Regions from separate parts of the Homo sapiens genome. Here region 1 is linked to region 2. Evidence: promoter capture Hi-C in 16 types of primary human blood cells and fetal thymus (Javierre and others, 2016). All regions are on one chromosome and are shown on one strand. The core of a region is centred on a gene start or on the middle of the fragment in contact, and the rest is flanking DNA. Distances in the headings are between cores, read along the strand shown. Region 1 has its middle 43 kb from the start of QPCT. Region 2 holds the start of RMDN2-AS1 (RMDN2 antisense RNA 1).

Region 1 (5,130 bases), core at 1,384-3,883, 650 kb after region 2:
AAGGAGATCAAGTGTGACTATTCCGAGGTCAGGTTTCTCGCTCGATGCCTGAAGGAGGTTCAACACCCCCTCCTTCCTCTGCCTACTCCTTCTGGCCTTCTGCCCTCCACCCAATTCTCTGTCTCACCCACAAATCCTACCCAATGCAGAAAAGTACTCCATACTGTGGTTCTTCATTTCTCTTTATTTCATAACCATATTTCTCATCTCTCTTCCCTGGGACTTCCTCAAATGTCCTTCTTTTGAAGGAGAGAGATGAGGAGGAGGCAAGAGGCATACCTAGGGAATTCCCTGGAGTTCAACTGAAACTTGTTGCAGTTCTGTTTCTAAGTCACCATTTCCCTGAGGGCAGCACTTTCAGAACCTACTGGCAACTGAAGTCTAGATCCCCACTCTGAAGCTCAGAGCCTCCCTTTGGCGGGCCTTGGGAAAGGAGGACAGGCACAGACAGCTTACACCCAGCATCTGGCTCCTGGCTGTGAGCTTGGATCTCTCCCTGCATCTGTTCCCTCGGTGCCTAATTCCAGCCCTGTGGGTAGATTTGGTCTTCAATAGCTGTCTGGTGCTTCAAGCTTTGTTTGTCTAGCTAGAAGCTTCAATTCTTGGTTTTTTGTTTTTTTTTTTTACTTCAAATAACCAGGTACTCCATAATACTTGGAGTGTTCATCTGAAAACTCAAAATGAGTCACTTCGATTTGAAACAGAGATACAGGATTAGCATAATAGAGTGAAAAGGCATGAGACTGGGTGCAAATCCCAAAACCTGACTTCTGGCCCAATCTTCATTATTGTATAAACTTGAACAAGTTGCTAAAGCTCTCTGTATCTGAGTTTGCCCCATCTCCTCCAGGATGAAGCAGGGCAGGCCTTGAATGAGGACAGGGGCCCTGAGAGCTGGAGCTGGGAGGTGTAGATGCTCATGGCAGCCAGTAGAGCCAAGAGGCAGAGGGCAAACCAGGTTCTTAGAGAACACAAAAGGCCCAGACCAAGGATACCAAATCTCTCACCACAATCAAGAGTAAAAGCCAGGAGATACACTGTTACATTTTATATAGGGTAGTTGGAGAAGGCCTGTGATAAAGGGACATTTGAGGCAAGTCCTGAAGCCAGAGAAATAGAAGCTGGATCAGTTCTTGAATATTTGTTTAATCACCAAGTATGTATTAAACCTCTGACACACACAAATATCTCCAAGTTGCTGGGAATACAATGATGAAAAACATAGACATAGTCCTTGCCCTCATGAAACCTACAATTTGATCATGAAAACAGGCTGCCCCCCACCCATAGTAAAACAATATTGTAATGACAAGTTGTGATAAGAAAAAAGAAAGAAATGAGTAGAGTGCTGAGATAGAAATATACAGGGAAGGACCTATTCTGGATAAGAGGATGTGAGGAACAGCCTCTGTGAGAAGGCCAAGAAAGAGACAGCAATGTAAATCGGGACTAAAGGAGAATCCCATGTGGAGGATAAGGATGTCCAGAAGCCTCCCTATGGCAGGGGACTGCTTAGTAAGTTCAAGGAACAAAAGAGGGCAATGGCATTTTAGGCCAGAGAGGGAGGGAAAGAGTGGTAGAATGTTGAGTTTCTGGGCCAGGCACGGTGGCTCACGCCTAGAATCCCAGCACTCTGGGAGGCTGAAGCAGGTGGATCACCTGAGGTCAGGAGTTTGAGACCAGCCTGCCCAACATGGTGAAACCCTGTCTCTACAAAAAATACAAAAAAAAAAATTAGCCCGGCATGATGTTGGGCGCCTGTAATCCCAGCTATTCAGGAGGCTGAGACAGGAGAATTGCTTGAACCCAGGTGGTGGAGGTTGAAGTGAGCCGAGATTGCACCACTGCACTCCAGCCTGGGCAACAGAGTGAGACTCTGTCTCAAAAAAAAAAAAAAAAAAAAAGATTGTTGAGTTTCTGAGTGGGGAGGGCCTTGTAGGCCATAGTAAGCCATAGTTAAGGAGTTCATATTAATTCTCAGTGCAGTGAAAAACCATCACAGGGTTTTATGCAGCATAGCAATGAGACCTGATTAATGTGTTTAAAACATTTCTCTGACTGTTGCATGAAGTCTAGAATGAAGCAGGGTGGAATGCTGCAGGGAGTCCAATTGGGAGGCTGTTGCATATCACAGGTGAGAGAGGAGGAAGCAGAAGCAAGATCAAGAGCAGATTCAAAGCAAGAGGTACCAAAGGATTGCCACAGATGAGTGGGACTTACCAGGTGACTTACAAGTGAACCATCCTGGCTTCAGTGAATCATCCTGGCTTAAGGTCCAGGATTAGGAAAGACAAGTTTCCTCATCATGAAGTTCATTCAACAAGTATTTAACATGCATCTACCATGTTCCAAGTACTAGGCCGGTCATTGAGGATACAGCAGTAAACGAAACAAACTCCCTACTCTTCTTCTGGGCTCACATTCTAGAGAGGAGAGAGAGATAACACACAAATAAACAGATAACAGTCCCCTAGAAATCAGAGCCTGAAACAAAAGCTCATGGCTTAGACTTTATGAGAGAAGGTGCAATTTAGGGGGAGTAAAAGTGAAGGAAAGTAGGAAGTGAGACAGGAAAGGAAGAATGGCAAATACAAGGGATGTGTTACCAAGATGGCCAGCTTTGCCACAAATACAGCTTGTTTCTCCATCTCCATCTCTTCCAGAGAGGTCAAATAAAATCACTGCATGTCAAAACAATCCACTGGAGGGAGGAAGGGTAAGCAATTAACCCTCGGTCTCTTCCTATCTCCTGCTTTCCATTGATTTGTCTACTGTGCAGGACATTAACTGTATGTATTTCTGGGTTGTGTCACTGGCCCCCAGGGCAGCTGCTGGGGAAGCCAGAGCTTCCCTGGATTCAGTTGAGTCAGACCTCAGTGTTGCAGCTGCTGCAGCTCCTACCAAACATAAGTCTAACCCTCATCTCTGGGGAAAGAAGAAGCAATGTGTAGCGTTAGGGGATGAAGTGATTGATGGTGGTGGCTTTACAGCGTAAGTTGTCACTAAGACCTCTCCAGGATGGAAAATGGGCAAGTCCAGGGGACAGGATGAAGGGGATCAGGGAAGGCCCCTCCAATTAAGTATTAGTTGAGCAAAACCTCAGATGAAATGTGGGCACATCCGACGCAAATATCTAGGGGAAAGCATTCCAGGCAGAGGAGCAAGCACATAGAAAGGCAGTGATTCAGGACTGTGCTCAGCTTGTTTGGGAAAAGCCAGGAGGCCAGTGTGGCCAGGAGAGGTGATGTAGGAAGAGAGCCATAGGAGGAGGGACCAGAAAGATGGAGGAGCCTGGTCATATGGAACCTTGTCAGCCATAGAAATGACACTGGATCCTATTCTGAGAGAAAGGAAAAGCCATTTCAGAGCTGTAATATGACCTGATTGCAATTTTTTTTTTTTTGAGACAGAATTTCACTGTGTTGCCCAGGCTGAAGTGCAGTGGTGTGATCTCAGCTCACTGCAACCTCTGCCTCCTGGGTTCAAGTAATTCTCCTGCCTCAGCCTCCTGAGTAGCTGGAATTACAGGTGGAACAACCATGCCCAGCTAATTTTTGCATTTTTAGTAGAGACGGGTTTTGCCATGTTGGCCAGGCTGGTCTCCAACTCCTGACCTCAGGTGATCAGCCCACCTATGCATCCCAAAGTGCTGGGATTACAGGCATGAGCCATCACACCCAGCCCCTGATTCCAATTTAAAAGGATCGTTCTAGTCCCTGTGATAGGAGACTACAGAAGCAAGGTGGAGCAGGGGGACCCAGGAAGAGATGATGGTGACTTGACCCAGAGGGGGAGCACTGCTCAAAGGGGACAGACCTGGGGTACAAAGGAGAGCCTATAGAACTTGATAATGTCCAGAGCTGAGAAAGAAGAGTCAGTACCTGGCTTAAAAAGTGTCCATGTACTAATGTAGGAAGAAGAAGGTTCGGGAGGATGCACGGAACTGTGAGTTCAGTTTTGCATTTCCTCATTTGAAGTGTCTTTGGGACACCCCAGTGGAGATGTTTGGAGTTTTGGGAGAGATTGAGACTGGAGATACTAATTTGGAAGTTATCTACACATAATCTTCAAACCATGGGGCTAGATGTGATCAGCTGGGGAGTGAGTATAGCTGGAGAAGAGGTCCAAGAACTAAGCTCCAGAATATTCTGATTTTTAAGAGTCAGAAAGACAAAAAAAGACACAGCAAGGGAGACAGAAGGAGAGACTAGAAAGGTAGGAGAACCAGGTGAAAGTGGTAACCTAGAACCCAAGGATTGACTGATCCACCAAGTCATTGCCTCTGAGAACTGAGTAAAAAGAGACTGGAGATTAGATCGGAGCTCCAAGCTAAGGTCTGCAGAGCACCAGCTTACAGGGAGGTGCTGAAGAGTCCCGGCTGCAGTGCGTCAGGGTGAGTGTGCTGGGGGGTTTGGATAAGGTTTCACCAATAAAGTTCTAGGCCACTCTCCTACCTTCAACCAGATCTGCACTGCTTTTATCTTTGGGGTTTTCGTGTGAGATATCCTTCAAAGAAAGGACTTTACTACTTAAAATACAAAAACGTTGAAAACTGTTGGAGTACATTCTACCACTGGGAAAGAGGCAAAAACGTGGACAGGGACCGTCCGTGCAGTGCAGCCCCAAGGAGAATCTAAAGCTGAGGGTGAAAACCATAGAGTAAATCAAGCTTGTCCAACCCGCAGCCCACCGGTGGCATGCGACCCAGGATGGCTTTGAATGTGGCCCAATACAAAACCATAAACTTTCTTAAAACATAATGGGCTGGCTGCAGTGGCTCACATCTGTAATCCCAGTACTTTGGAAGGCTGAGGTGGGTGGATCACCTGAGGTCAGGATTTTGAGACCAGCCTGGCCAATATGGCGAAATCCTATCTCTACTAAAAATACAAAAATGGCTGACTCTTTTCGGACTCAGCCCGCCTGCACCCAGGTGAAATCAACAGCCTTGTTGCTCACCCACATTGCAGCCCAGGGCTGCTCCCCACCCGCTTCTCCGTGTCTCTACCTTTTTCTTAACCTTGCCTCCTTCACTATAGGCAAGCTTCCACCCTCCATTCCTCCTTCTTCTCCCTTAGCCTGTGTTCTTAAGAACTTAAAACCTCTTCAACTCTCGCCTGACCTAAAATC
Region 2 (5,311 bases), core at 740-3,239:
AAGACAAAGTGCTGCACAAAGAGACTCGCAGTCGGCGTCCGCCCTCGCTTGAACGCGTCCCCCTTGCGCCCGGGGGGCGCTGCGCTCCCTCCAGGAGAGGACGCTGCGTCTAAGTCTAAGAGCCTCCAGTGGAAAGTCCCGGAAGCCCTCCCCTGGGCTTGAGATTTTTGCTGGCTGAAATGGAGCCTGGAAGTGCTTTTCTGTGGTTTAGATGGGGAAGGAATGGGGGAAAGAAACGGTTCGGGAAAGGGGAGAATGGAGGGGAGAAGAGGGAAGGAAGATGGCAGGAGCCTCGGAGGTCAGGCTTGCAAGCAAAGCAAACACCAGGCTCCAGAGGGGTTTGCAGGCTACAGAACACCGAGTTTCGAGAGAATCACATGTTTATCTTCTCTTAAAATTCTCATACTGAACGATCTGGATGTGACTCAGCTCACGCAGTCGCTAGCTGTGGCACCGTGTGAGCTACTTAACCTCAGAAAGAGTTTCATCATCTGTAAAATGGGCATCACGGCCTTGTGGAATGGATTAAAAGAGCCAAAGTGCATAAAGCTCACGCAGTATCCTTTATAAGCAGTTTGTAGGTCTCCTTCCTTGAATTTCTTTCAAGCTCCCAATAGCCAACGGGAAGCCGAACACACTTTCACACTAAAAATGGGAATTCAGGGAAGTATCATCAGGTTCTGAACTATGTTTTAAGACTCAAGTCAAACACCAAAACTGAGTCACCACCTAATGTGTGTGCAGCACGTGTTAGGGGCAGTTTGCTATGTGATGACTTGAACGACAGTTTCTCTCTCCTGGGACTTTCATAAAATTCCTTTGGTGTTGCCACACACTTCTGGGATTCTCCACAATGAGCCCATTGCTGAGCCTGTCTCTGCAGATGTTTATTAAACAAGCAGAATTTAGGGGAATAGTCAGCAAGTCTTCACCAAGTTCTTCTATGTGGGCAGCTTTTGTGGTGTGGCCAGGGTATGAGGATAAAGAGCAACTTGGAAAAGTCTGGGGAGAATTTAAGTAGCCTGAAGAGTCTCTGTCCCTCAGGGAGGAAAGCTGAGAAATCGTTTCCATATTTATGTGTCAATTGCTTTATGTCCATTTATTTGATCTTCCTTACAAAATCTTGCATAGAAAATTTCATCCTCATTTTACAGATGAGGAAACTGAAGCTTAGAGAGCTTAGGTCACTTACCCAAGTTCATCCAGGTAGCAAAGTGTCAGGTCTGGATTTAAATCAGGTTGAGTCCAGTACCTTTTTCTTTTTTATATCACGCTGCCTTTCCCTAGAAGCCAAAATTTCTAGGAAATAAATGAACTGCAATGACAAAGCAGCACATTTTCCCATGTTCTTTGCTCTTGATCCCTACCTACTCTTTTCCCGGAAATAGACAATAAAGCCACCAGGATACCTGAGACAGCCTTGGTCATCTTTGTACCGTAGCCAGCACCATGGATTTTTGCCTAGTTACTTTCCCATCAGATTTTAACAGAAAGAACACTGTATTTGCCAGCTCAGTACAGCATATCTCTGGCTCTGTTTTCTCCCCAGCAGGAATCCGAGGGTCTGTCTCTGTATGTGTTATCATCAGACTGGTAAAGAGTTACATGTGTCAGCACAGAAGAAAAGAGCTTTGATGTGAGTTCAGCATGTAAGAAAGCCTTCATTGCTGTCATGCTTTCAACAGGTTCCCCACGACCCACCACTGCCTGCCAAGATGAATGTAAATGAAGCAGAAGTCTCACAGGGTAAATTCAGCTTCCCACGACCTGCAGTTGGACAGGGTGGCAAGGAGATGATGATAATTCCATGGCTCCCAGCTTAATTTCTCTTGGGGAGGGGTATGTGGACTCTTGCTATCCTGGAGTCCATATCATGCAGGACTCCGGAACATAAAAGGCAACAACAGTGAAGTGAGTGCCTGTTACAAACAAGGCTCAACTCAAAGCTAACAATTCTTCTTTATTAGGATACCACTGATCAGAGCTGCAAAGTGTACTCACATCTGTCATTTCGTGTCATTCTTACATAAATCCTGTAGCTGGGCACAGTAGGAAGAAGCATTCTCATCATGGCCACTTAGCTTGCTCGAGATTACACAGAACCATGCCTCTGGTTTCCTGGTACAGTGCTCCGGCAGGTGACGGATGCTCCTGGGTGACATATCACGGATCTCTCTGAGGTGAGATCTTCATGATTCTATATCATAGGCATCTCTTTATCTTCAAGTTGGGCAACATCAGCAGGGTTCCCATGAGTATGTGCCCAGCGAGGCTATTTAGTTCCTCTTATCTTTTTTTTTTTCTACTTGCCCTCGTTTTTCCTGAGATTTTATTTCCTTCCTAGCTGGCATACCTTTCCCTGCTGTGGTATTCAGACCTAAATAGTGTGTGCACCTATTACCTCTGCAGAGTAATTACTGTTTGGTACCATGGTAGAGTTTCTGTGTCCAGATACGGTTGTGAATGCTTGGAATGTAACATTGGGAAAGACAGAACTATTGCTTGTAAGTGGATTTGTGGACATCATGGTGCTATGAGAAAACTAAGTTGAAGATGCTCCTGCATCTTGCTGGTTAAACTAGATATAAACCAGTTGCTTAATAATTCATAGCCTATCCTATCTGTTTCCCACCCTCCTTATCTTCCAGGGACTCATTTATTGAATAACTCATTTTACATGCCTCTTTTATCATATACATTTTTATGTGTATTAGGATGTATTTATGGACTTTATATTCTATTTCACTGATTTGTCTATTCATTCATATTTCTTTGAGTATGATAGCTTTATGCATTTTTTCTTATCTGGTAGGTATTGTTGCCCCTCATTGCTTGACTTCTTCAGTATTTTCACAACTACTCTTACTTGTTTGATTTTCCATTTGAACCTCAGAACATAAAAAGAATCTTGTTGGTATTTGTATTGGAATTTTATCAAATTTGTAGATTAATTGAAGGATATTGGATAATTTTAGGATGCTGTCTTCCTAATCAAAATATAGTGTGTCTTTTTATTTGTTCAAACTTTTGGGGTTCCTTCAATTTCTGCTTGCCTATCAGACATGATTCTTATATTTATTCCTAGATATTTGATCTTGTTTTACTCAGGGTAAATGAGGCATTACCTTCCAGTACACCTTCTAACTGGCTGCCATCTGTATTTGTCATGGCTACTGATTTCTATATATTTATTCTTTTATTGTTGAAGAATGTTTTGTAGTTCGTTCTTTCAGGTTTTTCACACGTGAATTTATTTGCCAACATAAATGATACTTACCATATTCTGTTAATGTATTACTTTCAAATATTCTAATTTGTTTGTCTTTCCTAATTAGAGCTAGTATCTCTAGAACAATATTCAATAATAGTAGTGACAGTGTCATTTTTCCTGTCCTTACTTCAGCATAAATGCTTCTAAATACTTTGTTAGTAGGCATGATGAGCTCAGATAAAAAGCTTTTTTTTAAATATTAAAACAGTATTCCTTTATTTCTACTTATTAAATTTTAAAATCAAGAAAACATTCTTGCCCTTTAAAATATTTTATATTTGTATATGTTTTATCATGAAAATTTTAGTAGGGTATTAATACGTATAATTTATAAATAAATAAATATAAATATATTAGGGGATGACAATTTTTACAACCGATTCAAGCATAAAATAAGAAAGTTTGGAGAGCATGGGTTTAGAGGATTATAATAAATTTTTAAAATTAAAATATCATTGTTTACCACAATACAATTTAATCCTTTTTGATAATGCTGAAGATACTTCAGGATCTCGAATGCTTTAGGATCAGCATTAGGGATACTGTTTATCTTATCAGTTGGTTGAAGGTTGGTTAACTAAGAATAAATCACTGGAAGTTCACCTGTTTGCCTCTGAAAAAGTCTGATCTTTATTGCCCTCTGAATGTCTTCTTCTATGCCAGACAGTTCCAATAAAGCAACTATAACTAGGCTCCCCTAGCCCTCCTGATCTCCCCATCATGTAGGAACCTAATATGTCCAAGATAGTGGTAGAGGGTGAGCCTATGTGGCCTGTGCCCAGCCTCTCTGCATCATCCTCACACAAGTTTAGTGTCACGGCTGAAGGATGCTCTTCTCAGCAGAAGTGGGATAAGAGCTGACACATCTACAGGCAGAGCAGTCAAAGGGTGGGAAGAAACCTGACCTCCTAAAGACCCACTGCCTTGCCTCAGCACAGTGGTGACTTCCTGTCGAGGACACTGCTAGAAGTCTTTCTGAGTAGATGATTCTGAAAAGTAAAGAAACACTAATATTCTTTGTAGTTACAAAATAGGAAAAGCTAGCTGGGGGGATAAACGTCAACAGATTCTTTTAATAGGATGCCTAGCTTTCTGCAAATTTTTACTGAACCAAGACATGTGTTCTTGGTTGATTAATACATGCAGTGCAAAAACTCAAAACAATATGCTGATATATTCCGTAAAGATAATTCCCAGGCTAACTGTGGTTTGTTTTACATTGTCAACAAGAGCAGGAGGTTGGGGGAGGAATCTCATGAATTCCTGGACATGGAAAGTTTGGATTCCCATGAAATGACTGATCTGAAATCTAGAGTAAATTTGATCTCAAATTTTCTCTCTTAATTATATAGTGAATATTGCAAATTCAATTCAACTTTAAAAGTATTTATTGAGCCCTATGAAAACACAGAAGCAAGATCAGATGTAGTCTTTTAATCTATGCGGAGAATGAATGTGTGTCCACATGGAGTAGATAACAATTCAAAAAATATAGAATTGGATAACAATGTAAGAAACATAGATGGTGTTGTGAAAGGTCAGAGAACTCATGACTGATTGTTGGGATTGTATCACTAGGAGTTTCTTTAAGTATAGCAGAGCAAGAGAGGTAGAAGGACACATGACTTTCATCCCCCTTCCAACAACAATGTTCTGAGACCATAGGCTTAATCTAGTCAAGTCTGCTTGACTTTCTATAGAGTGGGTTTCTGAAGGTTTTGATGATCTCACCATGGGATGGGAAGGAAAGGACAGCTACTTTTAGCTAGTTTGTGTACTGCCAGTGTTAAGGCAAGAAAGAGAAAGTAAAAATCTACTAGTAACTAACAAAGGTGCTTTTGGCTATAGAATTTTCAAATTTGGTGTCACTGAAGCCAAATGAGCACATGAAAGGATGCTTGACGTCACTGGTCAGAGAACTATGAATAAACCACAGTGAGATACTACTACATGTCTGTTAGAATGGCTAAAATTAAAGATTAAGACTGGCCATAGCAAGTGTTAACGAGAACATGGAGCAACTGAAATTCTCATGTATTT

What was found. The method cuts DNA at HindIII sites, captures the fragments that hold promoters and counts their contacts. A CHiCAGO score of 5 or more calls a contact.
Region 1: a contact is called between a fragment that was not itself captured here and the fragment with the promoter of RMDN2-AS1 in region 2, in 1 of 17 cell types (megakaryocytes). The highest score is 6.0, in megakaryocytes.

What each region holds. Positions count from the first base shown.
Region 1 is chr2:37,385,372-37,390,501 of GRCh38, reverse strand. No RefSeq gene overlaps it. Among named protein-coding and RNA genes, the nearest start is that of QPCT, 43 kb to the right of the region's middle. RefSeq lists an enhancer at 209-398. The HindIII fragment of the contact is 4,076 bases long and covers 596-4,671 here.
Region 2 is chr2:38,033,019-38,038,329 of GRCh38, reverse strand. RMDN2-AS1 (RMDN2 antisense RNA 1) reads left to right here and starts at 1,989. Exons shown (of 4, transcript NR_102712.1): 1 at 1,989-2,180. It also overlaps a transcript of RMDN2 not described here. The HindIII fragment of the contact is 2,287 bases long and covers 1,172-3,458 here.